Regions from separate parts of the Homo sapiens genome. Here region 2 is linked to region 1. Evidence: promoter capture Hi-C in 16 types of primary human blood cells and fetal thymus (Javierre and others, 2016). All regions are on one chromosome and are shown on one strand. Each heading gives the region's core, a stretch centred on a gene start or on the middle of the fragment in contact. The rest is flanking DNA. Distances are from core to core; before and after follow the strand shown. Region 1 holds the start of PGM2L1 (phosphoglucomutase 2 like 1). Region 2 has its middle 34 kb from the start of POLD3.

Evidence for each region. Contacts are between HindIII fragments. The CHiCAGO score rates a contact against its expected background, and 5 or more counts as called.
Region 2: a contact is called between a fragment that was not itself captured here and the fragment with the promoter of PGM2L1 in region 1, in 2 of 17 cell types (megakaryocytes and neutrophils). The highest score is 5.3, in megakaryocytes.

Annotation. Positions count from the first base shown.
Region 1 is chr11:74,396,882-74,400,407 of GRCh38, forward strand. It overlaps PGM2L1 (phosphoglucomutase 2 like 1), which reads right to left and starts at 1,552. Exons shown (of 14, transcript NM_173582.6): 1 at 1,170-1,552. The coding sequence starts at 1,280. It overlaps MIR548AL (microRNA 548al), which reads left to right and starts at 2,356; the gene lies at 2,356-2,452. RefSeq lists enhancers at 1-202, 1,294-1,915, 1,647-2,016, 1,916-2,536. The HindIII fragment of the contact is 3,289 bases long and covers 337-3,526 here.
Region 2 is chr11:74,556,948-74,560,473 of GRCh38, forward strand. No RefSeq gene overlaps it. Among named protein-coding and RNA genes, the nearest start is that of POLD3, 34 kb to the right of the region's middle. The HindIII fragment of the contact is 203 bases long and covers 1,501-1,703 here.

The DNA.
Region 1 (3,526 bases), core at 302-2,801:
CAAATACCTCATTGTAGTTGCTTATTTGTTGGTCTTCCTCATCTGCTAACTGAGGCTTGTTGAGGGCAGGAACCCTTTCTATTTTCCTCACAAGTATTTCCTGGGTCTAACAAGACCTAAAACACGCACTCAGCATTCAATATTTTTTTGCTGAATGAATGAATGAATAAAGTAAAAACAAAACTTTCAGAAAGTGAAGCCTTAAGGAAATTCATTTGTACAACATAATGTCACATACTACCATACAAATTCCTTAATTCAGTGTCATTAATTCCATTTTAAATGTGCTGCCTTCTCTACTTCAACAAAGGTATTTTACGCACTTGACAAAGCAAAAGCTTGGATTATCTTCCTCTGTTGGAGCTACCAGGGACCTCTTTTACAAGTAAGATAGCTGCATTTTAATTCTGATTGTCACAAATTCATCCCAAATGCCCGCACGAGGTTTAATTACCACCACAACTTGGAGGTGGGGGCGGAGGGTGGGTGGGGAGGTGTTGGTAGAGAAGTAATGGTTAAGGCAAAAACAATCCTGTATTAAGAGTACCACATGAAACCTGGAAAACACGATTCCTTGAACAGATTAATTCCAGAAAATAGCTGCCAGCAGGAGAAAGAAGAGGTAAGCGCCTTGCCTTTCCCAACAGCAAAAGGTGATACTAGACAATACCAGGGAGTGATAAAAGGCCAGCAACTACCTAGCGACAGAAGGAGGAAACACACCAGACCAGAACTAAAGCGGATAGCGGTTAGAAACGCCCAGTAAGGGTGCCAGAAACCACTTTCAGGTATGTGGAGAAGGAAGTCAAGGGAGAAAAAGGGAAAGGAAATCGTTGTTTAGGGTATAACTTACAATGATGATGATTTTTTTTTTTTTTTTTTTGAAGAAAGAGGGAAGACAGCACTTGAAAGGAAAGAGGGTAAAGAAGAGGAAGGGAGGTTACAATTGAGAGCACTGCAGAAGGAAGCGATGCAGATGTTGCCGCCCGGCTCTGGCAGTCCGAAGGAGCAACCCCACGCATAGGTGGGTGGCAACGCCCTGCTCCGCTGCCCCCCGCTCGGTGTCCCGAGCCATCTCCTCTGCAGCCCGCGGGGCGCTGGGTGGGCACAGGAAAGAGCAGACTGTGTGGGGGAGGCGACGGCGTTTGCCGGGCTGACCAGGTACCCACCTTATCCCAGCGGAGCCACTGCCCGATGGCCGTGTCCAGCTGAGGGTCCCCGGTGTGGTAGGGGGCGTGGAGCAGGTTGGAGTTCAGATCCCCCTCTGTGTTTTCAGCCATGGCGACCAGACAGGCGTACGGGCCGGGGGCCGGCGAAGACACTGAGTTGGGGTGGGGGGTGGCTTGGGGTTCGCTCACCAGGGTCCAGGCGTCCCCACCTCACTGAAGGGCATCGGAGACCAACCGCAGGGTGTTCGTAACAGCTCCTGCCGCGGCGTCAGGGAACCGGGAGAGAGGGGGTTTATGGCCGCCTGCTCCCCAGCGGACCAGGTCCGGGTCTCTGGGCGAAGTGACTGAGGCGGTCGCGCCGCGAGAGAACAACAGTCCCAGATGTCTGGGTCCTGGCTCCGCCGCCGCCGCCGCCGCCCGCCCCGCCTACGGCCCCGCCCCGCGCCTTAGGCCCCGCCCCTTCCCGCCCTTGCTGATTTAAGTCCCCGAAGTTCTAGACTGGAGCCCGGGAGCGCGCTCCCCACGCCTCCGAAGTAGTGGGGGTTTACAGCCCGTCCGGGTGGTGAGGCAATAGTGCACGGTTCTTTTTATTTTTTAATTTGCCAAGGGTCTCCTTTCCTCGATCTGCTCTCACGGCTACCACTAGCAAGCTGCCTTTGCGCTTGCCCTGCAGGTCCCCAGCGCGCGCGCAGGCCCCCAGTTTCTCTTGGGGGCACGCGCCGGTTGGGGGAGGAGGGGCAGTGCGAGCTGTCCGCGCACTGCCTCACGGGAGTTGTAGTTCTTTCCTTTGTCTGAGCTCAGCGGAGACCGCCGCCGAGACTACGACTCCCAGCAGCTCCGCGTTCCCCCTTTCCTCAAAAGAAAAAGATCTACCTCGAGGTAGTTCCCTACAGACACGCCCTATCCCTATTAGTTATGCTGCGCTGTGTGGCCCTGGCATTAAATTAAACAAGGAATGACATAGTAAGGGGACAAAGTGGTATCCGTTTAGTGCTGTGCAGTTTACGAATCGCGTTCTATCGCCTCAATCCCTCAGTAAGGTACAGGGGCGTAGTCCTTTTCCGTTTCACACACAAAGAAGAAACTGACTCCCTGAGACACCTCTCCTAAGAGGCCGAGTTCGTGAGCGGTCAAACTAGGGTTCCAATCTCATTTCAGATCCCCTCAGCTGGCAGTTATTTTATTAGGTCGGTGCAAAAGTAATTGCTGTTTTTGCCATTAAAAATAATGGCATTAAAAGTAATGGCAAAAACGGCAATGACTTTTGTACCAATCTAATATCTCTGCTGCTATAGTAAACTAGGAGGTAGGGAGAACAAGATTACTGGAAAATAGATAAGGAAGTTGTTGAGGGAAGATGGTCGGCATTTAACCTAAATATAAGAATGTATAAGCATCACAAGATACCAAGAGCAATGGTAATGGGAATACGGAGGAAAAGGAAATTGGTTCACCCAAATTGAAATAGTCTTCCGTTACTTCTTAGCCGTCTCTCCTATGGAAAGCTCACCTAAGTTGAGGTCTGGGAAATGCTGAGAAGTGCTGACCTGTCAGCCACCTAGCTACTCCTCCGTTTCTTGGTTTGGCCTTCTTAGAATGGCTATGATTTTGGGCAAGTACATTACAACTCTTTCCCTAGTCAGCTTTTTTGTAAGGAAGGTATGATAATATTTACATCATGGCTGTACAGTAACTTAATAAATGGCATTAGGCTGCTTTGAGGTTCACAGATAAAAGACATATTAAGTTCAAAGTATTACTTTATTTCCTTTAAAGTGCCATTTACCATAATAAAATTCAAACTACCAAGGTACAAAAGGATTGTGGTACCAGTTTCTGAAAAACGTGCCATAGTTGGGAGTTGCAGTTTTTGCTAACGATTGTTTCTTTTGTGGAGTCAGCAGGACTCTTGTTCTTTTAATCACACAAGGCCTGGGCAACAGTCACGTGTCCTGGAGAGAAATTCATCTTCCACTACCATCACCATTATTATCCATGATACATATTAAACATTTACTCTCTGCTAAGCATTATGGTAGGAGCTGAGGCTACAAGAATCTATATAATTGTTCACTTCGAGAAGTAACATCTGAGGAGACAGGATATATGTAAGAAAAGAAAGCCCATGATAAATAGCAAGTGCTGCCAACAACTGTTAATGAATTTACATCTGAGGTGGTCAATGAAAAAAGCATCAAGCAGGAGGGACCTGCACTGGGCTTTCAGAAACAAAATAAACAAGTTGAGAATAAGATAGAGGATATTTCAAACCCATAGATCAGTGGTTCTCATATCTCCCTAGGAGTTTGTTTAAATTAATATTCCTGGACACTGCCTCCAGAGATTCTGAATCAATA
Region 2 (3,526 bases), core at 352-2,851, 160 kb after region 1:
AGACAGGGTGGATTCAGGTTTTGTGGGGGCTGAAGCTTCCACAATTTGGGCAGCCTCCTTTATATTGGGCAGAATTCTAAGATTATTCCCCGCTCCCTCAATGACCTTTGCACTTGTATAATCTCCCCTTTGAGTGTAGGTGGAACCTGTGAATCTGGTGACATCACTGTTGTCATTCTGTTAAGTGGCAAGAGAGATTATCTTGGGTGGGCCTGACCTAATCAGGGAAGCCCTTTAAAAGAAGATAATTTTCAGCTGGGTGCGGTGGCTCATGCCTGTAATCCCAGCAGTTTGGGAGGCTGAGGTGGGCAGATCATGAGGTCAGGAGATGGAGACCATCCTGGCAAACACGTGAAACCCCGTCTCTACTAAAAATACAAAAAAAAAAAAAAAATTTAGCCGGGCGTGGTGGCAGGTGCCTGTAGTCCCAGCTACTCGGGAGGCTGAGGCAGCAGAATGGCATGAACCTGGGAGGCGGAGCTTGCAGTGAGCCGAGATCGCGCCACTGCACTCCAGCCTGGGCAACAGAGCAAGACTCTGTCTCAAAAAAACAAAACAAACAAACAAAAAAGAAGATAATTTTCTCCATCTGGCTGCAAAAGAGGAAGCCAGAGAGATGCACTGTGGCTGGTCTGGAAGAAAGCAACATCTGTGCTGTGAACTGCATATGGGGGCATGTAAGTCTGCTAGGGCGCCATAACTAAATACCATGGACTGAGTGGCTTAAGACAACAGCAATTTATTTTCTCACAGATCTGGAGGCAGGAAGTCCAAGATCAGGGTGCCAGCATGGTCAGTTTCTGGGGAAGGCTCACTTCTTGGCTTGTAGTTGGTCACCTTCTTGCTGTGTCCTCACTTGGTCTTTCCTCAGTGTGTGTATGCAGAGAGAGAGAGTGAGCTCTGGTGTCTCTTCTTATAAGAACACTAAACCTATTGGGTCAGGATCTCGCCCTTGTGACATCGTTTAACCTTAATTACCTTCCAAAGGCCCCATCTCCAAACTGTCAGATTGAGGTTAGGGCTTCAACATGTGAATTTTAGGGGAACACAATCATTCAGTCCATAACAGAGGGCCATGCGACAAAGTATTTTGAGTGGCCTATAGGAGCTGAGAGTGGTCCCCGGCTGATAACCAGCAGGACAATGGTGACCTCAGTCCTACAACCATAAGGAACTGCATTCTGCCAATAACCAGTGAGCCTGAAGGAGAACCCTGAGCCCTATACATGACCAGCACTTTCAGTCCAGCCTGCTGAGATCCTGAGCAGAGAATTGAGTCATGCCCTACGTCGACTTCTGGTATACAGAAGCAGAAATAATAAATTTGTAATAAGTGGCTAAGTTTGTGATAATTGTTTATGCATCAGTATAAAATTGTTTATTATCAATACAAAAATAATATAAATTTTATAATATATATTTTTAAGGAAAAAATACAAAATTACAAATACAAAATCTGTGAGACTAAAGAGGTCTGTAAGTGAGGAACCCTGAAATTTAAGCTTCATTAGTTTCAAGGTAAGTCTGTCTCTGCCTCCAAGAAGGAGAGAAGATGAAGGAAAAAGAGTGTCAACTACAATACGATGTTGCTGTTTTGGGCAGGACAAATGCCCAAAACCAATTCTATCTCTTTGAAAGGCTTTAGGGGAACCTTTAAGGGATCCTCCCTTGGAGCCCCCAACTATACTTCCCTTGAGAAGCAAAGCTTCTCCTCTGGCTTGGCTCCTGAACTTTAGCAGTCCATCTTCTCTGTTGGGGTCCCAGTGCCCTCAGTGCAATTCTTTTGAGGACAGACCTGTTTTAGGAAGATCCTAGGTCAGATCCCTTCTTCCAGGTCTACCTCAGTTCCTAGGAAAAACCTGCTTTTGCCCCATGGCCAGTGGGAGAAGGGTTTGCTCTCAGCCCAACCATCTCTCTCTAGTCCTACAAATTCCATTCAGTCTCTAATATTTAAATTCCTCAAGAATATGTCAAACTCCATATCTTATGATTCCCAAACTTCAGTGCAACATGTCAAGCTCTCTGAGTGGTTTTCTTGAAGTCCCCAGTTTCCTTTGGCTTAAGGAAGGAGGAGAATATGGCTCCCCTCCCCTGTGTACCGATTGTCACCCAGTTATTAACAGAAAGAATAGGGATTCAGGAACCCTGAGCTCTAGTCTGGGTTCTGATACTAACTCACTGTGTGTCCTTGGGAAATGTCCTTTTCCATTTCGGGCCTTGCTTTCCTGACAGCTCACTTAAATGAAAATGTAGGACTAGATCCACTCATTTATTCAGTAAATGTTTATAGAGTCCCTATTACGTGTCAGGAACTGTCTGGGTATGAGGAATCATCAGAAAACAAACTAGCTGACTTCTCAGGCCCTACCAGCCCTCACATTCTCTGATGCTTCTCCCCCACCTAGTTCCCACTCACCCCTCAACAATGAGTGGTCAAGTTCTGGCTGCGATCATGACTGCTTTTCCACCTCAGCAGTGTATAGCCTCTTCTTGCAGGGATATTTATTTATTTATTTATTTATTTCTGACAGGGTCCTGCTCTGTTGGGTGCAGTAATGCGATCAGGGCTCACTACAACCTGGACCTCCTGGGCTCAAGTGATCCTCCTGCTTCAGCCTCCCAAAGTGCTGAGATTATAGGTGTGAGCCGCCATGCCCAGCCCACAGGGACCTTTGATGGGACTAGGGGTAAGCTTCCTTTGAAGGCAGCATTGCTGTTTTGGTTACTGCCCATCAACCTGGGCTGTCTGGCCTGGAAGTACTGCCTGGCCAACGACAATGGAAAGGTTTATTTGCAGAGGCCAGGAAGTCCCCATGACCCCTCTCCATTCACCTCTGAGACAGGAAGCCCCAGGAGGAAAAAACAAAAGATGAAATGCTGGCTGACTTCCCAGCTTCCAAGTGCTCAGCCGCACTCTGGACTGGAGGATCCCTTCTGCCCAGTGGACAGGGACCTCTTTCAGCAGCTCCTTCCTTGTCATTGATCCCCAGGGCTTCAGTTCCTGTCCTGAGGATCCAGAAGGACTTAGGTGACGTAAAAGAGGTATGAAATGAAGATTGAGTCTCTGGGAAAGGATGCATGATGTCTTATCCTAAGCTAAGCCTCCATGTCTGGGAAGTGGGGGGAGGCTGAATGCACAGAGTGGGAAAAATATTCTCAGTGGTTAAGGAAGCAAGTGACTCACCTGCTCTGACCTTCATCCATCCACTCCCATGGCCAGAGTGACTTCAGGGAGGAGGTGGGGTGGAAGAGATTTCCAAGTCTCGTTTTTTTTTTCTTGAGTTTTTTAAGACCTCTTACTTATGATGCCCCTTCCATCCATCACACTTCTCCCAACAGCTTAGCTAACCTGCCTGGAAAAAACAGTCATCAAAAAGCACACAGCATGCTAAGTAGAAAATGAAAAAGCAGGAGGTGCCTCCACTCTTCCAGCAGCTTTTCCACTGGGTTCTGTGCCTAAGGAGTTGCTCCCTCCAGTCCGCAGAGTAGCTGGAATGCATTTTCAAAATTCAACTTTAAAAACTGA